2 separate regions of the Homo sapiens genome follow, and region 1 is linked to region 2. The links are contacts of gene promoters, found by promoter capture Hi-C in human tissues and cell types (Jung and others, 2019). All regions are on one chromosome and are shown on one strand. The core of a region is centred on a gene start or on the middle of the fragment in contact, and the rest is flanking DNA. Distances in the headings are between cores, read along the strand shown.

Region 1 (6,638 bases), core at 957-3,456, 1.2 Mb before region 2:
TGTGCGGGAGAATTTGCAGTTCTATTGGAGATACTTGTATGTTTTGTGGACATATAGAAGATAGCTTTTGGTGATTTTACATGACTCTAAATTCAAAAGTTCAAAAACTCAGAAATTCCTTAATTAGTAATATATGAGTATATGGCTCTTTCAGGCATTTGAATGTTTCAGCCATAGAAGCACCAACAATAGCAGGGATAGGACAAAAAATAATAGTTTCAAAAAGTTTGATCCATTCAGTATCTGAATGAAATGTATTCAGGAAGAACTCTGGTAATTAGCAGAAAAGAATGTGCTTACTGCTCATTCATTCAATGAATTGATATTTAATTTAATGACTACTATATGTCTGGCACTATGTCAAGTGGGTAAATAAAAATATAAATATTTTCTCTACTTGTGGAATTAAGGGTCTATTGAGGATGAGGAAGTGATAGATTTTTGTCTAATAACCATACTAATAAATATATAATTACAAACCCAGATAAGTGATATCAAATAAGAAATGCTCTATAAAATCTCACTCGAATGAAGATGATCTGGATAGTGGCTGATCCAGATGAGGCATGGTGAGAGATGAAGACAGTACAGCGAGCCAGTTCTCAAGGAAGGCTCAAGGACGAGAATCATAGAAACTTCCAAGGCTTCAGGAGAAGCCAGTCTGGAACAGACATTTTTACAACTTAAGAATAACAAATCTTCCACAGAAAAATAACCTGACTCCCATGAAGAATCAAACTACCATGGTAGACATTTAGCCAAATATGGATATGATAGACAATCTAAAATATTATAAAATAAGCTTTTCAAAATAATTTTTAAAGACAGATAAGCAGGAATGAAAATGTTAATGTATGATAGAATGCTATGGTCACACACAGGGAAACTAGAAAAAAAGACCAAACAAAATGTAAATGTTAATTAAAGAAAAAAATAATTTAATGGAAGAGTTAAACAGATTAGGAACTGCTGAAATGGTATTAGTAAGCAAGATGTTGAAGATGAAGAAATCACTCAGTATATGTCAAAGGCAGCATAGAGAGATGGAATTGAAAATATGATTTTATTAGCCAGGATCCTCCAGAGAAACAGAAGCAATATGATCTCTCTCTCTCTCTCTCTCGATAGATAGATATAGTATATATATATATATAGATATATAGTATAGATATATAGATATATAGTATATATATAGATATATAGTATAGATATATAGATATATAGTATATATATAGATATATAGTATAGATATATAGATATATAGTATATATATAGATATATAGATATATAGTATATATAGATATATAGATATATAGTATATATATAGATATATAGTATATATAGATACAGATAGATTTATGCCTCTATCTATATCTAGCTATATAGATATAGATATATCTATAAATATGCCTCTGTGTGTGTATATGCAGATAGATAGATAGATATGCAGATAATTAAGCAAAGAAAGGAGGGAAAATAGTAAACAAAACAAAGTGATAGAAATAAGTCCAAACATGTGAGGGAGAGACAGAAAGATACAGAGAGAAGAGGGAAGGAAACAGATTTATTTTAAGGAATTGGCTTATGCTATTGTGGAAGCTGACAGTCTCAAATCTTCTGGGCAGGCCAGCAGGCTAGAGACCCAGGGAAGAGTCATGTTGCAGTCTTAAGTTGGAAGGTAGTCTAGAGGCAGAATTTCTTCCCTCTCTGAAGATCTTAATCTCTTCTCTTAAGGCCTTTAACTGATTAAGTGAGGCCCATGATATTGTGAAAGATAATCTGCTTTATTCAAAGTCTACTGATTTAAATACTAATCATATCTTTAAAAAATACTTCAAAATCTAAACTTGTTGTTGACCAATACAACTGGGCACTTTAGCATAGCCAAGTTGTCACATAAAATTAACCATCACAATGAGTGCATATTAAGAGATGCCAAAGATAGAGTGAGAAAGTCTCATGTTTATTTGGAAGGTGTTCCAGAAGGAGAGGTAGAGACTAGCAGTGAAGCAATATTTACAGAAATATTGCCTGAAAGTCTGTCCAAATGTAAGGGAAAAAAATAAAATTTTTGATTTAAGTGGCACACAAATTCAGAGCAAGAAAATGCAATTAATTCCACAATGAGTGGGTTATTATGAAACTGCAGAACATAAAAATAAAAAGAAAACATTTAAAGGTTTCAAAAGAAAAGACACATCATCTACTAAGGAAAGGTAAGCAGAATAAAAACTGTTTTTTACCATCAAGAGCTACCACAGGTAGTGGAAAAATACTTTCAAAGGACTCAGGAGAAATGATTGAACAAATGGACTTTTATACCCAGCTAAATGATTGATGAAGAATAAAGGCAAAATAAAGGCATATTTTTCAGACAATATCTGAGAGCTTTTCAGTTTGTGGATTTTACTGAAAGAAAAATTAACTGATACATTTAAGTATCTACAAAAGAGGATTCTGATGAAAAAAAATGATGATGCACAAAGTGATTTTCCCTAAAGAAATTTTAAACATTTTAATAAAACTCAGTAAGCTTTGATTGCAAAAAGTATCTGGTTTTGAGGACTTCCAAAGCAAGTAGTATCTAAAATACTGGACAGCTACCCTTAAAGAGGGGAGTATGTTAAAAAATAAATTGTTCTAATGTTTTTGAAAGGACAGAGATATTATTGAATGTTCTACTTTGTTATGTCAAGAATGGATGTTAAAAATAAAAGGACAACTGCTAAAGAAAATGAAAATAAAATACATAATTTCTAAGCTAGTAGAAGAATAAAAGGGAAATTACAAAACAAGCAGAAAGTTAAGCAAGAAAGGATGTAAAATCGTAAAAAAAAGATGACAGATGTCCAAATACATGCTAATAATCACAAAAATGTAACCGAATTAATAAAATATAGATTTTAAGATTAAATTTATTTTTGTTCTAGCTTTGTTTCCTGACAGCATCTAAGCATTAAAACACAGAAAGGCTGAAAGTAAAGTGATGATGAAACATACACTGAAAAATACTAAAGAAAAGGAAACTAGTGTTGCTATGTTAATTTCAAATAAAGTCAACTTTAAGGCAGATGATAATCACCTTATGACTAGCCCCTTGAGTCATCTTAAGTAACTAAATTTATATTCACTGGAAGAGAACTACTAACAGAACTTATCAAGCCACCAACTTCTGGAGACTATGACAGATTCTCAGGAAGCTGTCTGGACAGTATCTTAGGGAATGTCATTCTGTTACTAAATATTTTAATATTAGTACTTGGGTAGATAGTTATTCTAGGACAGCGTGATGCATTTGGATACTTTGTCAGCCCAGGGCTTACCCTCTGGTTTGGAAAACCAAACTGATTTAAAAAAAGGCGTAACTAAAAAATAAAAAGGAAAAGGCCACATAGAGGATTTTGACTAAATGACAGATATTCTATGTGTCTGAGACATTTGGATTAGTGCCTAGTTGACCCAGTAAGCTATTATGCAAATCCTACAAGTTCCATTCACCTTAAGTAAGTGCATGCTTTCTGAGGGACTCCTGGTTGCAATTCAGTTTATGACCACTAGATGGCATGTTGCCTTTTTGCAAAGAGCAAACGTCGCAGACCTGTCAAGTAGCCTTAAGAAGGAAAATTACTGAATAAATAGATAGATAGAAAGGTAATTGTGGATAATGGAAGATGGATAGAGAGAGAGAGAGAGAGACACTGTATAGATAGAAAGGTAATTGTTGATAATGGGGGGTAGACTCTGTCATGAATTAAAATTAATTATTATCTACTTAGAGATAAACTATTAACAATGATGCCAATATAGTGATTTCTAAGATCCTTTTCCAATGCTACAATTCTATAATACCATTTGAGACAGCATATAAACAAATTAAACTTTCTCAGACATCGGAAGAAATTTATATTTCCTTTTAAAATTTGTTTTATTTACTGTTTTATAAAAACTCTTTTGTGTTTTACGTATTCCAGATATTTGGCAACCACATCCCAGGTTAGTCTCATTCGTACTTGGCCTGTATAATCTTCTATTTTATCTCCTAGAGGCAAAGACCTATTCAAAGTCTGCCTGAAGATGAGTTCATTGGGCAGTTAGGCAGCTGCTGCTGTGAGATCAACATTTTGTCCTTGTGGTCCCTTGGAAGGCCCCAGGGCTTTCCTTTTTCTCCAGAGGTGTGCCCCCACTGCTGTTTCAGATGCTAGGATTTCATCCAATCATCTAGTCTGCAAATGTCTGTCTTTGCCTCTTCCATTTCTAGCACTTTGACTTTTGCTGCATGTCTTGACCTGGACAAGTCACTTCATTTCATTGAACCTCTGTTCCTTCACCTGTGAATTAGAAAAAGTGTAACTTGCCTCCCATGGTTATGTGAGAATCCAAAGAGATAATGTGTAAAGTACCTAAAACATGGGCACAGATTGACATATACATTAAAGAATTACATTTTTGAAATTCTGAGAAAAAAATTCAGAGATAACATGAAATTCTGACAAAACAATCTCAAAAAAGCCTGATTCGAAATAATGAAGGGGATAACTAGCAATGCCAATGGGGCTATTCACGTATTCTCTTAGAAGTTCAGAAATTAAAAGTACAAATACACTTCCCAAATGGATTATCATGATTATACAAATTTGATCCAACTCCTCTATCATATATTCATTCCAACAGGTTTGATCTTGTATATACCTATTAAACCTGTGATTAAATAACTACTTTAAAAAAAAGGACAAGTAAAAATTGTTGCTATGGGCTTTTGAAATAGAGTTAAGACATTTAAAGCCAGAATTAAGTAAGTTTTGAGAAGAAAACTAGGATAAAATATCATTCAGCTGAACGTATGAAAAAAGACTTAAGAATATTAATTAGGTGAACATCAATGTTAGCTACCTGTGTGATGAAGCTGACCAATAGGCTGACATTACCTTTAGGCCCCTTAACAGAAATAGTGTCTGCAATGAGGAAGGTGTTAGTCCTATTATGTTTGGCTCAGGTCACATCTCAAGTAGAGTATAGTATTTGTTTCCAAGTGCAAACACTATCAAAAGTGTACTGGCTGGCATACCTTAAGACATAGATGCTGATGGTCTGGATTAGTGGGAGATAGGGGGTTCCAAAGGAGATAGGCTTACTGGGGTTTGAGAAAGTCCACTTTTGTGGCCACAGTTTGCTATTTGAAGGTCCCAGATAAAGTCAGTAGTCAAAATTGGGAGGTGTGTAAAGTTGCCAGATAAAATCAAGAATATACTTTAGTTGCGTGGGACATACTTTTATACTAAAAATTATGTTTTACTTATCTTAAATTCAAGGTAATTTATATAATTAAATATGTCCCTTGCAACTAAAGTCTATTCATTGGTTATCAGAAATTTAAATTTAACTGGGTATCCTGTATTTTTATTTGCTAACTCTGGCAACCCTGGGGATATGATATAAGGATGGGGATGTTCAATGAGCAGAAAACACAATGACAATGATTTCAGAGAAGAGATAGTTAAAATCTATATTAATGAATGCAATATTGCAGCAAAATGAGTCTTTCAGCGTTTGATTCATATTAATACAAGTATCTTATTGTAGACAATGGTCAGAAGTTATATAAAATTAAAAGTCATTGACATTTAACTCATTTTAAATACTAAAGCTTATGAACACTAGAACAATTTCCTTTGCTAGTACCAGCCTGGCCATGTTCAGACACTTCAGTTTCCTGTACCTGCCGTGTATCCCAGCTGCATATCTGCAGAGTGCAGTTGGTGGACATCAGCTTCTTCCTGCCCTCTTAGGCTTCCTTGATTAGAGCCTTTGGGAGCATTGTGTAGCCACAGCCTATTCTCTTTGGCTCCTACTCAGTTGCAGGTCTGACTTTTTTTTTTTTTTTTTTTTTTTTTTTTGAGATGGAGTCTTGCCTCCGTCACCCAGGCTGGAGTGCAGCGGGGCGATCTCGGCTCGCAGCAACCTCCGCCTCCTAGGTTCAAGTGATTCTCCTCCTGCCTCAGCCTCCCGAGTAGCTGGACTACAGGCACTCACCACCATGCCCAGCTAATTTTTGTGTTTTAGTAGAGACATGATTTCACCATGTTGGCCAGGCTGGTCTTGAACTCCTGACTGCAAGTGATCTGCCTGCCTCAGCCTCCCAAAGTGCTGGGATTGTAAGCATGAGGCACCGTGCCTGGCCTGTTCTGACTTTTCTTACAGACTATGCAGGCTGTAACTTCACTCCTTCCCTTCTCTAGAGGTGACTGAAAAGACCTCAGAGGTTTACACTTCAGGTGCCCACTGAGTGGTCCAGAGGTGATGGGGTGCTTTGTGATTAGGGTGCCAGTGTTAGAATGAATGCAGGGAGGCAGGGAAGGGGATGAGAAAGAGAATGTCATGAGTCACCAAAGGTAAATGCAGCAGCTGACTGATGTTTGAAATAAGATTCATGCCAGCAAGACTGAACATTGCAGTATTATAAATGTGTGAAATCCTGGGCAATCAGAGCACACAGAACAGAAAGAAAGTTAGTATAAAGAAACTCTGAAAGTAAAGTATAGGACACTAGCCATAGCAACTGAGATCTTGAGAATTTTTACAGCTAAATTTAAATGGAACAAGAACAAAGATTTTGACACATATCACATTAGAATTGGGAA
Region 2 (6,954 bases), core at 3,575-6,074:
ATTATGGACAGATGGGTGGCTTATGTCCCATGCCTTATAAGTACATCCTATGCCATACGCTTCAGCCACTTTTGCTTCCTAATCAAAGCAACAGCATAGGGCTGACACCTAAACTTCTACTGCTATTGAGACTGACAGCAATAAAAACAGATGAAAATTTGAACTTATTAAAATGAAGAAAAAAAGGAGGAACTTGGAAAGGATTTAGACAGGAAATAATAGATATAAAATTGGAACAGTAAGTTTAGAGTGCATATGAAACAAATGGCAAGTGAGCAATTAACACTGGTGTTTGAATGTCAGCATTTAAGCTAGAAAAGATGGCACTCAGAGTGATCTGATAAAGCTCATTTATAATATTTAGGAGGCAAGATACACACTTAGTATTTAGCAGATTTTATTTTGCTCCCCCCACCCCCTTTCTCCAACCCTTAATTGCACAATTTGTAACTTGTAAGTAGAAAATGCTCTGGATTGAGCATTCTCTCAGCAATCTGCTATAAAACAACACTCCTGTGGGAAGTGGTCCCCATCGGTAACCTAGCCATGGTCACTAGGAGAGGGATGAGCCAGCCTCCAGGAGTCCAGCTCTGCAGGCTCCACCCCTTTCCAGGGACAGAAACGCCACAGGATCTCAGAATATTTGAAGTCAAGAGTTCAAATCTCGTGTAGGATCCAAGAAAGCCCATAATCCTGTCAAGTATTCAGAAAACAAAAGCAAAATTGCCCAACAACAAATAACATTTCCAGTGCCAACCTCTTCCTAATGCCCCCTCCCCCTCCACCACACCCACACATCCAGTCAGCAGTGGCTATTTTTAGGTAGCCTAGAAGCTAGGAAGGGCTGCTGTGCCTTCCCCAGCACACATACGGAACAGATGCTGCGATCCGGCTGGACAGAGGTTTAGTTTGTTTAAGTCATTTATGGAATCCACCACATAAAGCTTTCCATCTTCCTGAATGCCACAAGAACCAGTGTCCTGGGAAGAATGAGTCATTGTCCCTGGAAGAAAACACTGATGTTAAAAACAAGAGGTTGGGCTTGTGAACTCAACTTCACAAGAACCACAGCCACCAGGAAGCCAGACAGGCCTATGAAGAACCACCCACAAATAGTATTTTCAACTAAGGCTCTAGAGAACTTGGCTTATCCAGAAAAAAATATTTCCTTCTGTGGACCACTTTGTAATCGTTCTTTTTGCTTTGCTTGCCAGGAAGCTCACAGTCAAATGTGTGGCCCAATTTTAAGAATTGTACATCCATGTATACCCTGCTTATCTGCAAACACTCTTTTCTCCTCCTCAGATGTCTCAGTTCTGCCTATATTTTCCCTGGATCTGTTTTTATTTTGTAACTAATTTTAAAATTTTTCTTTTATTACATTGTTCACATTCTGGTGAGATGCCTCAAATCCTTTGTGCAAGAAGACTAGGTAGACAAAATTAAGCTAGTCAGCAGTGGCCACAAAACATTCTGAAAAAAGAGAATATTACCATGAACCATTCTAATTGCAGGAGGCTTTAATAGAAAATTGCAATTTTTATAGCCTCCCTCCATATGGCATGTAAGTCCTTCTCTTCACACAATTCCTTTAGCCATAAGATGCTGACTGTGAGTCCCCAAGACAACAATCTTAGCAAACTTAGCTGCTATAGAGAGGAATGCTGCTAGACTTCAGGACCTCTGAGATCTCTTCCACCTGGGTTTCCCTTAGACTGAGGTCACTTATGTAATAGCTTGAGGTTTATTAAATATTGAAAGTAATATTCTCTAACGACAGCACAACTGCAAGCAACACTGAAAATCCTGAAGAGTTTAAAAGGTTTATGTGGAGATGTATCTCTAGCACAACAGAGAACTTGTGGCCATTTAATTATGTGAAAAGAAGCCTCTAGAAAGACAAATTTCAATTACTATAAAAGCTTTTCCTTTCATGGTTATCAAGTCTAATCGTGATAGAGGATGTTTGGATCTAGAAAGGGTGTTAGATGTGCTTTAGTTCCCATCCTTTCCGCAAATGAGGAAATGGAAGCTCGGCGAGGTAAATGCCCAGGATCACACATTTGCCTGGCAGCAGAGCTGGAATCGGGCCTTTTGTTCAGCATTCAATGAGTCTTGCTTTGTGCTACTTTTCTTTTCTATATCCCTTCCTAATCCTGCCTCAAGACTCAGCTCAAACATCACTTCCCCTAGGAAGAGAGAACCAACCTGTCTTTCCTTTTGCCTTTGCTGGATTCTTTACATTCTTCTATCAGAACATCTGTAGTATTTTATTGCATCTATTTGCTTACATCTTTGATTTCCCGATAGACTGAAAACTCCTTAGAGTAGGGACGAATCCTATTCTTCAAATGCCCAGTGCCAGGTTTAGAAGTTGGTGACTTATGTTAAGATGGAACACCTGAAATGTTTATTTAGGATTTAAATCTCACCATTTTCAAAAGAATTGGAGGCAGTTAATAATAAGTACATGAACAGAAATAAGATTGAGGATAAAAATCCTCATGTGATGTCTATCTGGACTCTAGTAAAGTCAATGCGATAAATATGGTGCCTGTGTGTATTTGACAACACACTGTTTACTTTCTGTTGTTGCAAAAATTTCCTTTAAAACTCATCTACAGAATGAAGAGCAATATAGAGTTGGGAGAAACCAAATTCATAAAAAAAAAAAAAAAGTATACACCTAAAGAAGATGTGGGGAAAAAAAGTATCAGACACTTACTGAGCAATTTAAACTTAGTCTAAAATATTAAAAAAACAATTTCCCAGTAATACCTAAAACTACTGGTACTTGTGAAAAATGTGCTACCAGAACCCTAGCTAAGAAAGTGAGCTCAAAAAGTCATGGACTAAAAATTTTTTTTAGGGTTAAAACTAAAAAAGTGTGTTTCACTTATCTTGAAATTTTAATTAACAAGAACAAACAATTCCCTGAGTTTTCAGATAAGATACTACCATAGCACTTTATTGACATTACTGAATTCCAAATATACTTCATAGAGCATTCCTAAGGAAATGACTTGATATGACAATTAAAAAAAATTAAAAAGCAGCAGCAAATAGAGTAAAAGGGCCTTAGAGGTCAGTCAAATCTTATCCTTTTGCAGTTAAAACCAAGGCCCCAAAATATTCACTCATGCATAGTCACAGATTTTAAAACAATTCTTTTAGATGTGTTTCATATTTTATCATCCATTTATACTAATATTTGACCAAACAGTAATATGTGACCAGGAAAAAAAGTTTTATGTGTCACATCACAGGACCACTGTTCTGCACACAGCTTCTATTTTAGGTGTGGTAACTGAAGCATGGTTCATTTTTGGATCTCTGACTTAATAGCCTTGAGCCTTAGCTTCCCCTTCAGGAATGTATCTGCTGTTGCTTCAATTTCATACTGAGGCTTAATCAATGTTTACAAAATAGAGACCTAGCTAGAAAATCATGGCCACAAAAACTGACTTTAAGAGTACAGCTAATAAAATCTCCATATTACTGGTCTTGCTATCTACTCAAAAGGTGACTCCAAAAAAAACTAAGACAACAACCTAGTGAGCCATGACGTGCTTTGAAAGAAAATGTCTTCTTTAGAGTGAAGTCACAATGTAAATATATGCTATTCCAATATTTTTTTAATGAGCTGCAACACGCAAATGGAAAAATAAAGAACTAGCAGAGAAAACTGAGTTGGGTGCTGTTCCAGGGCTCCAAGAGCCTGCAAATGACTTGCAAATGACTCATGAGGCTGCTAGTAAAGGGATACAAGATCACATGGCCTTAAAACCAGGCCCCACGGCTGTTTGACACCCAGTAGTTGCTATCTTTGGCATCTCCAAATGAGGGCATCTAGGAACAACCAGCAAGGCTGGAGAAGCCAGTGTTACTAGCAATTCTTCATCACACTAACTTGACCCTCCTTTCAACTCCAGTGTGCAAATTTGCTTATTCACCAAGATTGGCTAAAGCAGCATCCCTTTAACAGAACCCTTTCTTATACCTTGACTGGAAACATGTAAGTAATTTCATTTTCCTCTGGTTTAGATCACTGCTAACAGTTGATTTTTTGTCATTTAAGAATTCTTTGACTATTTACAAATAAATATTCCAACAAATAAAGATAATTGTCTATGAAAAATTGCCTGGTGCTTTATTTTTTAACCAGGCAGGTGCTTGGTATCAAACCACAGAAATAACTCACACCAGTATTGCTTGCCACAAAATCAGAATTGTTATAATAGGGCATAATTCAAAGCTAATAAGCAGTGTTATTGAATGAGTCATGGTAATTTGTTCTTTAATTTCATTTCCCAGTCAATGCCTCTTCACATTCAGGAAGTAATTTTTAAAATCAAGTCTAAATCATTTCTATCAAAAATGAAAAACACAGAGCACATGCAACAAAAACTTCCCAGACTCGAGAATCATAATTCAGTCTCAGTAGAGTAATAGCATGCAAATTACTTACAAAAATGTGAGCTTTGACTGCTAGGTTACCAGAAAAACAAAACAAAACAAAACAAACAAACAAAAACTAATTGTTCAGAAGCAACTACAACAAAACTTTTCTACAAATTCTGTAGTTCTCTCTTTGCCTTTCTTCAGCATACGGGTGCTCCTATGAGACCCATAAGCCCCAGGATGAAACTGTTGGTCTATATTGTGTCAATTTAGCCAAGCAGTGTAAGATTCCAAATCCTGACTTTTTTCATAATGTCTAAGGTTTTTAGTAAATATATTACTAAAACTATGCTTTAAAAAGAAAACAACAAAAAAACACCATGCCCTGATTTAGTTGGTAACTGATGAGGTTTTTATTGGACTGAAGTTACCGTCCTTATCTGGCTGAAGCAACTGTTAGCTGACACCACCTTTCCAGCACTCCTGCCATGGTATGCTTCCATATATAAATATCCTGTAGCAGGCGGAAGCTGCCACTATGATGACTGACTTGCAAACACTCCAGACAAACCAGAGAACTGCAATAAACACGGACAGAATATGATTATGACATCATAACAAGGATGATGGCAGGTCAGACGCCTAGTGCTTCCAGTAGCTACAAAAAGCGATTGTGAGTGGGCGATTTCATGGATACAGACCCACCACAGGTGAAGGAAGCACTCCATCTCATCGGCCGCCTTTCCTTTACAAAGGCTTTGTTCTGTGAGTGTCTGCACATCCTCCTTTCTCAGGAATAACAGCCTTCCATATATGTGGTTCCCTCACATACATGCCAAGGAGCTTCTGCCCTCTGCTGTACATAAAAGATGCTACAGTGATGAGGAGACCAACTATCTCAGCAGGATACTAACAGTGAGGTTGTGAACAACTGTGCAATCCTTTATCATCCTCACTTCCATTGCCATAGCTTGATGGACATTATTCATCTTTGAAACATTTTTCATGTCAGTGAGAAAATAGGTGTTCCACAAAATTTTCTTTGAGACAGAGTCTTGCTGTGTTGCCCAGGCTGGAGCGCAGTGGCATGATCCCAGCCTACTGAGACCTTCCTGCTTCCAGATTCTCCTGCCTCAGCCTCCCAAGTAGCTGGGATTACAGGTATGTGCCACCATAGCTGGCTAATTTCTTTATTTTTAGTAGAGATGGGGTTTCACCATGTTGGTCAGGCTAGTCTTGAACTCCTGACCTCAAGTGATCCACCCACCTCGGCCTCCCAAAGTGCTGGGATTACAAACTTGAGCCACCATGCCCGGCCCAAAATTTTCTTTACACCTATATCCCATACGGACCTCACTCTGCTTTGGGGGAAGAGGAATGTCATTTTTTTTTTCCCTTCACACTACCTAGTCTAAGAGGGAATGTCATTTTTTCAAGCCTCATCTGTACCCAAAGACTAATTCTTGGAGGAAGACAATATAACTAGTAACTTTTCTCAGAAACATACGTTAAAAAGCTATGTCAAATTTCTCTGAATAATGAAAATGTTCATGTTAGCTATTATGCTGTTTTTAAGAAATCTCCCAACTACCTGATCTGCCTTGAGCCATGTATCCTTTGAAGATATAATAGAAGTAACTGCCTCATTTTGGGGCGTTTACTACTTTTCCTCTCCTGTAACTTCTAACTTTGTGGAATATTAACTTCCCCTGAAGGAGGAAGGAAATGGAGACTAAGGAATTTAATTGTTGAGGGATACACTGATTATAAGTGGCAGAGATGAGATGTAAACCCATACCTCGCATTCAAGTCTGAATTGAACTATACACCAGTGAGGGGGATAAGACTGCCTTTAGACCAGTTAGACTTCTGGAAAGCCACTTAAGAACAAAGCAAGACAACCTACTTCATTTTAACTATAACATACCTGCAAGACCACCTTTAAGAAGAGTTTTGGGGCCGAGTGCGGTGGCTCATGCCTGTATTCCCAGCACTTTGGGAGGCCGAGACAGGCAGATTAACTGAGGTCGGAAGTTCGAGACCAGCCTGACCAACAAGGAGAAACCCCATCTCTACTAAAAATACAAAATTAGCCGGGTGTGGTGGCACATGCATGTAATCCCAGCAACTCAGGAGGCTGAGGCAGATTATACCATTGGACTCCAGCCTGGGCAACAAAAACGAAACTTCATCTCAAAAGAAAAAAAAAGAGTTTTGGGTCACAAAAAGAGATATTCTCACATGAAGTGTCTAATCTAGGGACATTCTCAAGTATTTGCTTTTTCTTTCATATATTACATCTCAGGGTATCTAAATTCACTCCCAGGAAATTTAGTACCCATCAAAGAGGAGTCACAGACAATGAATACTTCAAAATGCTTGAGCCTCAAAATAATGAAAGCGGGCAAAATTAATCAAGAATCAAGCAATGAACAACTAGTCTATAACACAACATTTTTCTACTTTCAAGAAAACACAAGCATTCTTACACATTGAACACCCAGCCACCCTTGTCTAGCAGTTACCACAAGTTTCATGAATAAAGTCACCTGC

The links. The method cuts DNA at HindIII sites, captures the fragments that hold promoters and counts their contacts. A contact is called where the count stands out against the background at its distance.
Region 1: a contact is called between a fragment that was not itself captured here and the fragment with the promoter of LSMEM1 in region 2, in 1 of the 25 tissues and cell types used here (dorsolateral prefrontal cortex).

The regions. Positions count from the first base shown.
Region 1 is chr7:113,707,402-113,714,039 of GRCh38, reverse strand. No RefSeq gene overlaps it. Among named protein-coding and RNA genes, the nearest start is that of PPP1R3A, 210 kb to the left of the region's middle. The HindIII fragment of the contact is 3,767 bases long and covers 323-4,089 here.
Region 2 is chr7:112,478,861-112,485,814 of GRCh38, reverse strand. LSMEM1 (leucine rich single-pass membrane protein 1) reads right to left here and starts at 4,824. Exons shown (of 4, transcript NM_182597.3): 1 at 4,469-4,824; 2 at 872-1,003. The coding sequence starts at 998. The HindIII fragment of the contact is 9,789 bases long and covers 1,434-6,954 here.